3 separate regions of the Homo sapiens genome follow, and all the other regions are linked to region 3. Evidence: promoter capture Hi-C in 16 types of primary human blood cells and fetal thymus (Javierre and others, 2016). All regions are on one chromosome and are shown on one strand. The core of a region is centred on a gene start or on the middle of the fragment in contact, and the rest is flanking DNA. Distances in the headings are between cores, read along the strand shown. Region 1 has its middle 30 kb from the start of OR9A4. Region 2 has its middle 20 kb from the start of PRSS37. Region 3 holds the start of MGAM2 (maltase-glucoamylase 2 (putative)).

Region 1 (4,624 bases), core at 1,290-3,789, 230 kb before region 3:
CTACAATGAACTGAAACAAATTTACAAGAAAAAAACAAACAACCCCATCAAAAAGTGGGCGAAGGACATGAACAGACACTTCTCGAAAGAAGACATTTATGCAGCCAAAAAACACATGAAGAAGTTTTCCTAACATTTTAAAGTTGTCTTCTTCTTGAACCAGTGTTTGCTTGGTTCCTGAAAAACTTTGAATGTTTTCCAGAGTTCTGGCGAAGTTGGTTCTGACAGTTTCTGCTGTTTTCTTTTGTTTCTCTGGAGGGAAAGGAGCTTGGAGCTTCCTAGGCTAATATTTTGCTCACATCACGCACTATTCCCTGCCCTGAGGATTTTTGATGTGTGTCTTGGAAACTTTTGTGGAGTTTTCTGCTTGCTGATAACTTGGGCTTTGTAGAGCTAAGTGGAATTAGGGAAATAAACATAAGAGCACATTGGGAGGCCGAGGCAGGCAGATCACGAGGTCAAGAGATCACGACCATCCTGGCCAACATGGTAAAACCCTGTCTGTACTAACAATACAAAAATTAGCCGGGCGTGGTGGCGTGTGCCTGTAGTCCCAGCTGCTCAGGAGGCTGAGGCAGGAGAAGCACTTGAACCGGGGAGGCGGAGGTTGTAGTGAGCCAAGACTGCACCACTGCACTCTAGCCTGGGTGACAGAGTGGGACTCTGTCTCAAAATAAATAAATAAATAAATAAATTTAGAAAAGCACAGGGGGCTGACTCGAACAGTTTGATGCTAACCTGGATTCAATGTGTAGCAAAAAGAAACCTGGATGTTGGGACACTCTTGATGAGGAAGATTTTAACTTTGCTCATTATACCAAACTTCTAGGAGTTCTAAATCTTGATTAGCCTCAGGAGGGAAGATCTGAAACTTCCTTTGTTTTCTCCTTCCCTGCATCCCTAGGGTTTTTCTGAACTAACTTTCCTCAATGAATAACATTCCTTAGAGACACGTTGAAGAAGAAAAGACAGAGGGAGAGAGAAAGAGAGAAACTGTGGGGCATTCCATGGCACTATGATTTCTGGACCTTTTCCTAAATACATATGTGAAGACAGTTTTCTCGTTCACCGAGAGGGAGGAAGTCGTAGCTTCTTCTGGGCCACAGAGCAGTCTCAGCACTAATCAGGCATGATGTAGTCTGGGTTGAGACTTAGAGTCATATGGCTTTTCACTTCAATTTCTTTGAAGGTAAGTGAATTCCAGCAGTTTCCATCTGTGTAGAAAAGAGTGAGAGAGGTTCAGGATGGAAAGTTTTAGACCTGCCAACTTTCTAGAGCAAGGGCATTCAGACCCTAATGGGTAAGCTATGAGAGAGGCAAAGGAGATTGGCTCATCTCCAAATTCCCCCTGTACAGTAGAGAGCACTTTCACTTCTTCTCTGATTCATTGCTGGATGCAGTACAACTCCTTGCTATTGTCAAAACCATCCTTGACATCATCTCTACTTTCTTTTCATCTGGTTCTGGGTAAAGAGAGATTGTGGAAATCACTCTACTGAGCTCTTCCGTCAAGTCTGTACTTGTTACCCAACTGCCATTTTATAAGGGGTCTCAGAGAGAGGACTGAATTATGACTGATCACTGTCTCAGTGAAGACAGAAGGGAGAGAAAGCAGTTTCTTTTAGCATTGGCTATAGCCTGATTTGGAGGGGCTTTGTTCACAGATTCATTCTTTAATTGATCAATTCATTGATTCACTCAAAAGTAGTACCACCTCATTCTGTATGAGATATAGTGAATAAAAATTACAATCTTTTTGCTTTCGTGGTGCTTACATTGTAAAATGAGTCAGAAAATAAAAAGTAAACATATAATTTCTCATGATGAGCGCTAAAAAGATAAATATATTCTGATGAGGTGATAGAGAGTGAAGGGTTGTGTGTGTTCTTTTAGACAGAATGAAGAGAAAATTTGAACTCAGATACTTGACCAAAAACCTGAAAGAAGTGATAAATAAAGCCCAGGAATTCTAAGTTACTCAGGATGCAGGGTCTGTTTCATGTGAGTGACAGTGGAATCTTCAATTTCTAATATGATTTTGGGAGAGGAATGTGTTCATAGAAGAAATATAGGCCCTGAGGTGACTTCCTAAATTTACTGTTAGACCGAGACCAAAGCCATCTGTATTTAGGACATGGGCTGAACCCAGATGTCACACTTGGTGGTTTTGGTCTCCTGATGGATCCAGGGCTTTGGATTATCCTGAAGCCAGAGGATGTTGAAATGGGACTAAAGTCTCCTATTTGTCAGAGCCAGCATAAGTTCAGTGTGGGACAGTTAGAGTCTGAGGATAAAAGTTTTTCCTCTGTATTTCGCCTGAATTTTCTTTCTCTAAGAACAGTGGAAAGAGTTGTCAGAGTCTTAGAGAGAGATGGTCAGGCTCAACTCAGCCCAGGTGCTGGTTGCCTGCCTTCTGTGAGAAGACACATTTACTGAGGACAGGAGCAAGGGAAGCTTTCTTCCCAAGATAGGGAGGAAGAAAGGAGTAATCCATGCAGGGAACCAGCTGACTAGTAGATTGAGAGATACTCAGTCCTTGCCCTCGAGAATTTATAGAAACTCCTCAGGAAACTTCCCTACCCTCACTCTCACCAACGCACAGCAATGATGATGAAGGTAAGGCAGAAGCTTTAAAATAAACATCCTGTAAATGGAACCTACATTCTGATGAAACAAAGAAATCAAGTAGCCAGCTCAGGGGTGTTGGCCAGGAAAACTTTTGTATAGAACATGATACTGGAGCAGGAATTTACAGGACAGAAAATACTTGGCAGACAGAGTAGTTTAGGACCTTCCAGGTGGAAGGGAGTTAGTGGTAGAAATGAATACACTGTGGTCCTGGAGGCTGACTGCTGGCTGTTCAGAGCAGAGTGGGAGGCAGGTAAACTGAGCATTGAGGGTGCAATGGTGCATGCTGGGCAGGGTATAGGCTCTCATGTCTAAGGTATGGCACTGGGGACTGGGATCATCTTCTTGGCCAACTCAATTTTCTTGGCATATTGTGCATAGTTAGAAAAATTGCCCCTAAACCAGGCGTGGCAGCTCACACCTATAATCCCAGCACTTTGGGAGGCCGAAACGGGTGGATCACCTGAGGTCACGAGTTTGAGACTAGCCTGGCCAACATGGTGAAACCCCATCTCTACTAATAATACAAAAAAATTAGCTGGGTATGGTGGCACATGCTTGTAATCTCAGCTAGCCGGGAGGCTGAGGCAGGAGAATCTCTTGAACCTAGGAGGTTACAGTGGAGGTTACAGTGAGTTGAGATCATGCTATTGCACTCCAGCCTGGGTGACAAGAGTGAAACTCCATCTCAAAAAAAAAAGAAAAGAAAAGAAAAGAAAAATCGCGCCTGACCATATACAGGGAATAGTAGAAGACAAATGCCTACCATTCTAGTCATGCTGTGCAGCCTGTGAGCAGGAGGGGGATTTCAGAACAGTTTCTACTTCTGTTGCGATGAGAAGCCATATTAACTCTTTTTTTTTTCTCTAGATTTCAGAAGGGAAAAGCACTCAGAAGTAAATGTTGGGGAATTACTCTAGCGCCACTGAATTTTTTCTCTTAGGCTTCCCTGGCTCCCAAGAAGTATGCCGTATCCTATTTGCGACCTTCTTCCTCTTGTATGCAGTGACAGTGATGGGAAACGTGGTCATCATCATCACTGTCTGTGTTGATAAATGTCTGCAGTCCCCCATTTATTTTTTCCTGGGCCACCTCTGTGTCCTGGAGATCCTGATCACATCCACCGCTGTCCCTTTTATGCTCTGGGGGTTGCTGCTTCCAAGCACCCAGATCATGTCTTTGACAGCCTGTGCTGCACAGCTATATTTATACCTTTCTTTGGGTACCTTGGAGTTGGCATTAATGGGAGTGATGGCTGTGGACCGTTATGTGGCTGTGTGTAACCCTTTGAGGTACAACATCATTATGAACAGCAGCACCTTCATTTGGGTGATAATTGTGTCATGGGTTTTGGGGTTTCTTTCTGAAATCTGGCCAGTTTATGCCACTTTTCAGCTTACTTTCTGCAAATCAAGTGTGTTAGATCATTTTTATTGTGACCGAGGACAATTGCTCAAGGTATCCTGTGAGGACACTCTTTTCAGAGAGTTTATTCTTTTTCTAATGGCTGTTTTCATTATCATTGGTTCTTTGATCCCTACGATTGTCTCCTACACCTACATCATCTCCACCAACCTCAAGATTCCGTCAGCCTCTGGCTGGAGGAAATCCTTTTCCACCTGTGCCTCCCACTTCACCTATGTTGTGATTGGCTATGGCAGCTGCTTGTTTCTCTACGTGAAACCCAAGTAAACGCAGGCAGCCGAGTATAACAGGGTAGTGTCACTGCTGGTTTTAGTGGTGACCCCTTTTCTGAACCCTTTTATCTTCACCCTGAGGAATGACAAATTCATACAGGCCTTTGGAGATGGCATGAAACACTGCTATAAACTCCTTAAAAATTAAGTCTGTCCTGAGTACAGTTCAAATCCTCATCATGGATTTGAGTAATCTGATAGTACTAATTGAAACAAAATGATCATTCTCAAAATCAAACAGCTCATGATCTACAATGGATATTTAAGCTATGACATGGCTTCATTTTGTATTAAATTCT
Region 2 (4,176 bases), core at 1,334-3,833, 250 kb before region 3:
ACATACTTACACAATAGCTGCCACTTTTTGCCATGAGTAGAATCTGTGTTAAGTGAAACAAAGATTAGCACATTGTGCCAGTCCTTCAGGTAGTCAAGGCAGATTAGAATAGACACACATAATACTTTGTGAATGAGGTTTGCTCTGCACCCTCTGGAAACAGAGACTGGATCTCACACTGGGGATACAGGCTGTCATTTTCAAGACTGCTGGTGAGATGGGGAGAGGGTGGGCAAAGGTAAGTAAAAACATCATGAAGCTTTCCTAATATTTTTGGGTTTTTTTTCTTGTATCATTGTTTACTTGGTTGCTGAAAAACAATATTTTCTGAAGTTCTAATAAAGTTGATTTTGGGAGTTTCGGGTTGTTTTTTTCTTTTCAGTTGAGAGTCAGGAGCTTGAAGCTGCCTATTCCACTATTTTCTCATGTTACTCATCCCTGGCCTCTGGATTTTTGATGTGTATTCATCAGGTTTCTCTAGAGGAAGAAAGCCAATAGTATATGTGTATACACACATGCACATGCACACACACACATACACATACATTCCCTTTTATATATACATGAAAGGGAATTTATTAGGGAGAATTGTCTCACATGATTACAAAGGTGAAGTCCCCAAATAGGTTGTCTCCAAGGTGGGAAATGAGAAAAGCTGGTATTGTAGCTTGGTCCCAGTTCAAAAGCCTCAAGACCAGGGAAGCTGACAGTATAGCTGCCAGTCTGAGGCAGGCTGCTGGTGCAAGCCCTAGAGTCCAAAGGCTGAAGAACTTTGGGTCTGATGTCCAAAGGCAGGAGGAAAAAAGGGATCTCACTCTAGAAGGGAGAGAGAAAAAGAGAGAGAGGAATCTAAGCAAGCTGAATGTCCCCCTTCTGCAAACTTTGTTCTAGCCTCACCCATGGCCTATTGGATGGGCCTCCTCTTCCAGTCCACTGACCTACATGTTAGTCTTTCCTGGAAACAGCCTCACAGACACTCCCAGGAGCAATGCTTCACTGTCCATCTAGGCATCTCTCAATCCAGTCAAGTTGACACCTGTGTTAACCATCACAGGGAGTGTAGTCTCTGTAGGGTTAAATGGAATTAGGGAGATACACATGAGAGAGTGCAAGACTGGCTTGACTTGTTTATAAACAGGGCTTACAGCCTAGAGGAAGACGGCCTGGGTTTTGAGAAACTCTTGATGAGGGAGATTTCAAGTTTTCCCATTACTCAAAACTTTTAAGAATTCTTAAACTTGATTAGTCTCGGGAGAGAAGAGCTGAAAGTTTCTTTGGTGTTTCCTTCAATGCATCCCTAGGGTTTCCCTGAACTAACTTTCCTTAGTGAATAATATTACTTAGGGATGCATTGCAGAGTGAAAGAAGGAGGGAAAGAGAAAGAGGGAAACAGTGGGGCATCCCATGGCATTATGATTTCTAGACTTTCTCCTCAGTGTTTGTGTGAAGTCAGTTTTCTCTTTCACTGAGAGTGAAGAAGCAGCAGCTTCCTCTGGCCCACAGAGCAATCTCAGCACTAATCAGTCAGGAGGCAGCCTGGGTCGAGTCCTAGAGAGCCATTCAACTTTTCACTTCAGGGTATTTCTCTGGAGATGAGTGTTTTCCAGGAGTTCTGCTCTGTGAAGGAGAAACTAGGAGAGGCTCAGAATAGAACGTTCTGGGCCTGTTTGCCCTCTAGGATGAGGACACTCAGATTTTATTAAAGAGTAATAGGCTCATCTTCAAATTCTTCTTGCATAGCAGAAAGCACTTTCAACTATTCTCTGACTCAGTGCTTGACATAGGCACAGGTCATTGCTATTGTTAGAACCATCATCTCTCCTTTCTTTTTACTGGGTCCCACGTAAGCAGAGATTGTGGGAATTCGGACTGAGTTCTTCTATCGAGTTGATCCTTGTTACCCAAATATCATTTTACAAGAGGTCTCAGAGAGAGGACTGAATGATGACTGGGCACTGTGTCAGTGAAGACAGAAGGGAGAGAAAGCAGCTGCTTCAACATTGGCCATAGCCAAGTGTGCATAGGCTCTGACCATAGATTCATCCTTTAATTGATGAATTCATTTAATTCATTCAGAAATAATACTAGATCATGAGACACAATGAACAAGAATGACAATCTTCTTGCTTTCATGGTGCTTACATTGTAAAATGAATGACAAAATAAACAAAACGTAAACATACAATTTCAAGTGATGAAGGCTAAAGAGAAAAGTAGATCTCAGTGAGGAGATAGCGAGTGAAGGATAGTATGTGTTTTTTTAGACAGAATGATGAGGACAGTTTCCCTGAACTTGGACACTTAAGCAAAGACCTGAAGGAAGTAAGGGATAAAGCCCAGAAATTCTAAGGTACTCAGGAAATGGGGTCTATTTTACGTTAGTGACAGCTGACTTTTTAATTTCTGGTATGATTTTGGGAGAAAAATGTGATTATATAAGGAACATTGAGGATACATCCCAACCTTTCTAATAGAATGAGACCATAGCCTCGATATTTAGGACCTGGGCTGAACCTGGAAGTCACACTTGGTGGCTTTGAGCTCTCCTAGAGGCAAGGTCTGTAGACCTAAATCCTTTTGTTTGCCAGTCCGAGTATGAGGTCAAAGTGGGACAGAGAGAGGCTGAGGATAAAAGTTCCTCCTTTATATTCTGTCTGAATCTTTCTTCTCTCGCAATGATGAAAAGAGTTGTCAGAGTCTTAGAGAGAGATGGCCAGGTTCAACTCAGGCCAGGTGTGGTTTGTCAGCCTTCTGTGAGAAGACACATTCACTGAGGACAAAAGTAAGGGAGGCTTTCATCCCCAAGATAGGAAGGAAGAAAGGAGTAATCCATGCAGGGAACCAGCTGACCAGTAGATTGAGAGATCCTCAGTCCTTGCCCTTGAAAATTTACAGATACTCCTCAGGAGGAGACTTCCATACCCTCACTCTCACCAACACACAGCAATAATGATGAAGGTAAAGCAAAAGTTTTAAAATAAACATCCTGTAAATGGAACCTACATTCTGATGAAACAAAGAAATCGAGTAACCAGCTCAGGGGCGTTGGCAGGGAAACTTTTGTATAGAACATGATACTGGAGCAGGAATTTACAGGATAGAAAATACTTGGCAGACAGAGTAGTTTAGGACCTTCCAGGTGGAAGGGAGTTAGTGGTAGAAATGAACACACTGTGGTCCTGGAGGCTGACTGCTGGCTGTTCAGAGCAGAGAGGGAGGCAGGTGAAGTGAGCATTGGGGGTGCAATGGTGCATGCTGGGCAGGGTATAGGCTCTCATGTCTAAGGTATGGCACTGGGGACTGGGATCATCTTCATGACCAACTCAATTTTCCTCACACATTGTACATATTTAGAAAAATTGCCACTGACCATATACAGGAATAGTAGAAGACAAATGCCTACCATTCTAGTCATGGTGTGTGGCCTGTGAACAGGAGGGGGATTGCAGAACAGTTTCTAATTCTGTTAAGATGAGAAGCCGTATTAACTCTCTTTTGTTTTCTAGATTTCATGAGTTAAAAGCACTCAGAAGTAAATGTTGGGGAATTACTCTAGCGCCACTGAATTTTTTCTCTTAGGCTTCCCTGGCTCCCAAGAAGTACGCCGTATCCTTTTTGTGAACTTCTTCTTCTTGTACGCAGTGACAGTGATGGGAAACACGGTCATCATCGTCACTGTCTGTGTTGATAAACATCTGCAGTCCCCCATGTATTTTTTCCTGGGCCACCTCTGTGTCCTGGAGATCCTGATCACATCCACCGCTGCCCCTTTTATGCTGGGGGGTTGCTGCTTCCAAGCACCCAGATCATGTCTTTGACAGCCTGTGCTGCACAGCTATATACCTTTCTTTGGGTACCTCGGAGTTGGCATTAATGGGAGTGATGGCTGTGGACCATTATGTGGCTGTGTGTAACCCTTTGAGGTACAACATCATTATGAACAGCAGCACATGTGTCTGGATGGTCATTGTATCATGGGTGTTTGGGTTCCTTTTTCAAATCTGGCCAGTTTATGCCACTTTTCAGCTTACTTTCTGCAAATCAAATGTGTTAGATCATTTTTACTGTGACTGAGGACAATTGCTCAAGGTATCCTGTGAGGACACTCTTTTCACAGAGTTTATTCTTTTTCTAATGGCTGTTTTCATTATCATTGGTTCTTTTGATCCCTACGAT
Region 3 (4,797 bases), core at 2,252-4,751:
CACCCCCTAAGTCTTTTCTGATAAAAATACTTCCTTAAAGCCAGCACAGGAAGACAGGTTTGAGCTGGACTCCTGTGTCCTGTGAGTCGACTTTGCAATAAAAGCTTTTCTTCGAAACCCTTTATCAGAGTATTGGCTTCTAGCGCATCGAAGAGTGAGCCCTTTCGCTCAATAATACCCCCAGAGGTTGTTCCTCAGATCACAGTCTGAGAACCACCTCTCATGGAACCATATCCATTTGTGGCCATCCCAGAGCAGCCCCTACAACATGGACCTATGCTTACAACTCCTGGCCAGCTATTCAGGAAGAGGCTGGGGGCCTTCCTTTTCCACATATGCTCTGTTTTTTAGATCACATAATTTTGCTTTCTTCATAGGTGTGCCAAAATAAAAAAAAAAACACTCTCAAACTCTTTCACTTAAATAGGAAGACATCTATTCCTTTCTTATTAATGTTATAACATTAAATGTCATATATACCTGCAAAGATAAGGTTATGTTGGCCGTGGCAGATGTCTTCAAGATCTCATCAATATTTCTTTGTTCTTGTCATAGCGGCAGAGTCACTGAGAGTTTTGCATCTGGCCTTGGAGAAAGGTGTTCTGGAAGTTAAGGGTGACTCATATTACTAGTTTCTGATCTGATGATTCCAACCAGCAGCTTGCTGTGACAACTGTTTGAGTTCCGCCAATAGCTAACTTTGCCGTGCCTTGTTACCGATAGACAACTGGAAGATGTCGGGTCACGTGCCTGTCTCTACCCTTCAAAGTGGCTCTGTTATTTTCTCATTGGTCAACACCAGTATGGTGATTCAATATCTTCCAGTTACTAGTTAGCAAGAATGGAAGGTGAAGGTAGCTATTTTCTGCACTTTAGGAAACAGGTTATAGATTAGCTGGGCCTGTTGGTTACCACTATTAACATAAATGAAGTCACAAATGTGCATGGCATGTGGGGAGTTAAAGGTAAAATATCACACAAAAAATAGATCTTATGTAACAATAAAATCTCCCTTCTTGACCTTTTGCCAGGATGTCTTCCCAATTTGAAATGAGATCTTGGTACATTTCCCCTCTAACAAAGGCCACCTTGTACTGGGGCAAATGAAAAGCTGAATATGTCATTCCAGCAGTTCATAAATGCAGAAACCGAGTCTCTCTTTCTCTCTCTCTCTCTCTGTCCCTCCCTCTCTCTCTCTCACTTTCTCTCTCTCTCTCCGTGTGTGTGTGTATGTGTGCTTTTCCACATACTGAGCATTTGAAGCAAACACAAAAGATTCACTACTGTGAACACTGTTATTTACAGTTCTTAGGTGCCACCAAAAGAGCTCTCTGTACCCTCATATATTACTGGCAGGAATGGGGGTGTAAAATGGTGCTGCCACATTAGAAAGCAGTTTTGCAGTTCTTCAAAAAGTTAAAGACTTGTCACATGACCCATGATTCCACTCCTAGGTATATTCCAGGCAGAATTTTAAAACGTGTCAGCTCATAGCAGCATCGTTCATAACAGGCAAAAAGTATCAACAACCTAGATGTATATCAGCTGATACATGCCTAAACAAAATGTGGTCTATCCACGCAGTGGATACTATCCAGACATGGAAAGGAACAGACACTGATACCTGAAATGGTGTGGATGAACTTTGAAAATATCATGCCAAGTAAAAGAAGCCAGACACAGATGGCCACATATTGTATTACTGCATTTATATGAAATGTTCACAATAGGCAAATCCATAAGGACAGAAAGTAGGTTAGTGGCTGCAGAAACAGGGGGAGATGGGAATGGGGAGTGACCACTAATTATTTTTGGGGGTGGCAAAAATGTTCTGGAATTAGATAGTGGTGATAGTTTCAGAATTTTGTAAATATATTTTTAAAAACACTGAATTGTATACTTTAAAAGAGTGAATCTTATGGTTTGGAAATTATATGTCAATTTAAAAATCCACTTTAGCTGGCTTAAGAAAAATTTTAAAAAGATATTGGTGACTCATTGAAACTCCGGTAGGACTAGAGAGTCAGGTTTGTAGGCCATGTGGCTAGGGACAAGCCCCAGGTTACCCTGTAGCGGTTTCTACTGCCACTGCCCTGAGCACATATCTGGCAGCTCGCAACCCCAAATACTGAGCATAGGATGCCACTAGGTCTCTTGTCCCTGCTGCCTCTGAAACGAGCTATGCTTCCAACATCCTGGATTTTACATGGTACCTCCTTATCTACACCTTCTTCTGGATGTAAGTCACTCACAGGAATATCTCATTCACAAAGCTCCAGCCACTTGCCTCTACCTTGGATGAAAGAAAGGCTGTGAAAGAGAATTTCTAGCTGTTTCTTTGGGGAGGCAGAATTTGGAGAAAAAGTCCTTAAGTTGATTTAAGTAAGAGGTTTTCTTTTTCTTTTTAAAGAAAGATCCTCCGTTTTTAAATTTTTTTCAACTTTTATTTTAGATTCAGGGTCTAAGATTCAGGGTGCATATACAGGTTCATTTCAAGGGTATATTGTGTGATGCTGAGGTTTGGGGTGTGATTGAACCTGTCACCTAGGTAGTGAGTATAGTACCCAATAGGTAGTGTTACTACCTTTGTCTCCCTCCCCACCTCCCCCATCTTAGCAAGAGGTTTTGAAAGATGCTGAGCCATCGAAGAACATGACAAATGTCCACTAGAGGCATCTTCCCACTTTAGGTTTGTATACATTCTTTCTCTTTTATTTTTTTTGAGATGGAGTTTTGCTCTCGTTGTCCAGGCTGGAGTGCAATAGGGCAATCTCAACTCACTGCCAGCTCCACCTCCTGAGTTCAAGCGATTCTCCTGCCTCAGCCTCCTGGGTAGCTGGGATTACAGCCGCCTGCCACCATGCCTGGCTGTGCAGATGGGGTTTCACCACGTTGGCCAGGCTGGTCTCAAACTCCTGACCTCAGGTGATCCGCCCACCTCGGCCTCCCAACGTGCTGGGATTACAGGTGTGAGCCACTGCACCTGGACGGGTTTGTATAATTGCTACTTTAATGGTACTTCACTATTTAGAATAATTGGTGGAAAGGATCATTTGAATTAATGAAAAGCTGAGTTATACCAAGAGAACTCTGGAGGATGAAAATGGAGAAAAGAACAAAGTGATGAACTAAGAGCTAATCCTTCTTTCACTTACTTATTAAATAAATAGCTATATATTTAAAAAGAACTATGGATATTGGGCAGAGTGCTAAGCACAGGAGATACAACAGTGAAGAAGATAGACAAGACCCTAGCTCTTGAGCCCTTTAGGCTACATGTATAGATGAGGAAACATAACGTGACAAGTAATCAGATATGAACAGGGATACAGAAGAGGGACAATGAGTAGAAAAAAAACCACCTTCCCCTTTTATTAACAAAAGGAGCTTTCATTCTGTGTCACATGGAGAACAAGCGTTCTTTTATGACCTATTGGAATATGCACTCCCCTCCTCCAGTTGCTGTCAACTTTATAAGGCAATAAATTAATTGTGGCAGAAGCTGGCTACCTCAGCCCAGTTACCTTTGCTCAGTGCTCCCTATGAATTGCTGAGGGAGAGATACAGCATAGAAAAAAACAAGGTGATGCGGTGAGTACGCTTCTCCATGCAAGCAGGGCTTTGAACAAGGGCAGGAAGGTCCCTTTCTTTTTGTGTGATTTTCTGTCTGCTGCTCTGTTAAGTGATCTGGATGCCCATGTTTTCCTTCTGGACTTAATATTTTCTTCCTTTTCCATAAAATATGAGGAGTGAGGATGAGATAGTTGATGGAGAGGAGAGACTGTGTGTGTGTGTGTGTGTGTGTGTGTGTGTGTGTGTGTGTGTGTGGTGTCAGTGTTTGGAGGACAGGTTGGGGGAGGTCTGGTGTGAGATCCTCCTCTCTCACTGGGAGAAATTAAGGACAGAGGAAACAGATGGGATCCTTCTGGAAACTATCTCAAGATGGCATGGATTTGGAGGAAGGTGAATTCCTCCCAGCTTTGGGCAGGAAGGGTTTCTAAGTAGGCAAGAATTTCTACCTTTAGGAATCCCCATCCTGTCCTCTGCCTGAATGACAATAGCTCCTAAGGCAGGAAAATACCCAGGGTTATTCCCAGAGCGTTCCTGTACTTCCTGAGCTAAGGTGCTGAACCTGCTCCCTCAGGAGGATTGAGGAGCTGTGGAGTAGGTCCCTGCTGCTGATTTTTAGAAGCTAGAAAGAAAAAAGTCTCCCTGTGGAGAGAAATAATACTTGCAGAAAGAGACCAATTGATGAATAATGCCTTTGCTGTGGTATTGAGTTGTGGGCTGTATGTATAAGAAACGAAGTTTGATACCATAGCACTCTTAGGGTAGGTCCTTCCTACTTCTTTCTCTACCTGAAATTCCACCATTGGAGACCGATCCTCTAAGTCTTTAAGCTCTGCAGCCTAGGATACATTGTCGAGAGAGTATTCAAGTACTATTTTAAAAAGTAGCGGCTCTCGGTGTTTGTCTCAGTTCCACCACTAACCGTGACTAGACAAAATTTCTTAATATTCATCTATAAAATGGAAATCATGATATCTGTCTGATCAGCTTCAATGCAGGGATTTTATGAGAATACAGTCATATGATATATATTTTATAGGGATTAGAGTATATCTTTTAAATAATTTAGACTAAAAGAGAGACAACTGATTAATTTAGGTAAATAGTAAAGAATAGTTAATAAACCTCAATTTTAATCCCAAACCTCGTGTCTCCAAGGGCTAAGGGTTCTTCCTAAATGCCTGTTGGCAAATTACCTGTAGGTCCTAGTTCCTTACCTCTATTTCA

Evidence for each region. Contacts are between HindIII fragments. The CHiCAGO score rates a contact against its expected background, and 5 or more counts as called.
Region 1: a contact is called between a fragment that was not itself captured here and the fragment with the promoter of MGAM2 in region 3, in 1 of 17 cell types (M1 macrophages). The highest score is 5.0, in M1 macrophages.
Region 2: a fragment that was not itself captured here is called in contact with the fragment with the promoter of MGAM2 in region 3 in 1 of 17 cell types (monocytes); the score reaches 6.2 in monocytes.

The regions. Positions count from the first base shown.
Region 1 is chr7:141,883,620-141,888,243 of GRCh38, forward strand. It overlaps the pseudogene OR9A1P. Among named protein-coding and RNA genes, the nearest start is that of OR9A4, 30 kb to the right of the region's middle. The HindIII fragment of the contact is 174 bases long and covers 2,453-2,626 here.
Region 2 is chr7:141,859,324-141,863,499 of GRCh38, forward strand. It overlaps the pseudogene OR9A3P. Among named protein-coding and RNA genes, the nearest start is that of PRSS37, 20 kb to the left of the region's middle. The HindIII fragment of the contact is 4,653 bases long and covers 258-4,176 here.
Region 3 is chr7:142,108,217-142,113,013 of GRCh38, forward strand. MGAM2 (maltase-glucoamylase 2 (putative)) reads left to right here and starts at 3,502. Exons shown (of 48, transcript NM_001293626.2): 1 at 3,502-3,591. The HindIII fragment of the contact is 17,675 bases long and covers 103-4,797 here.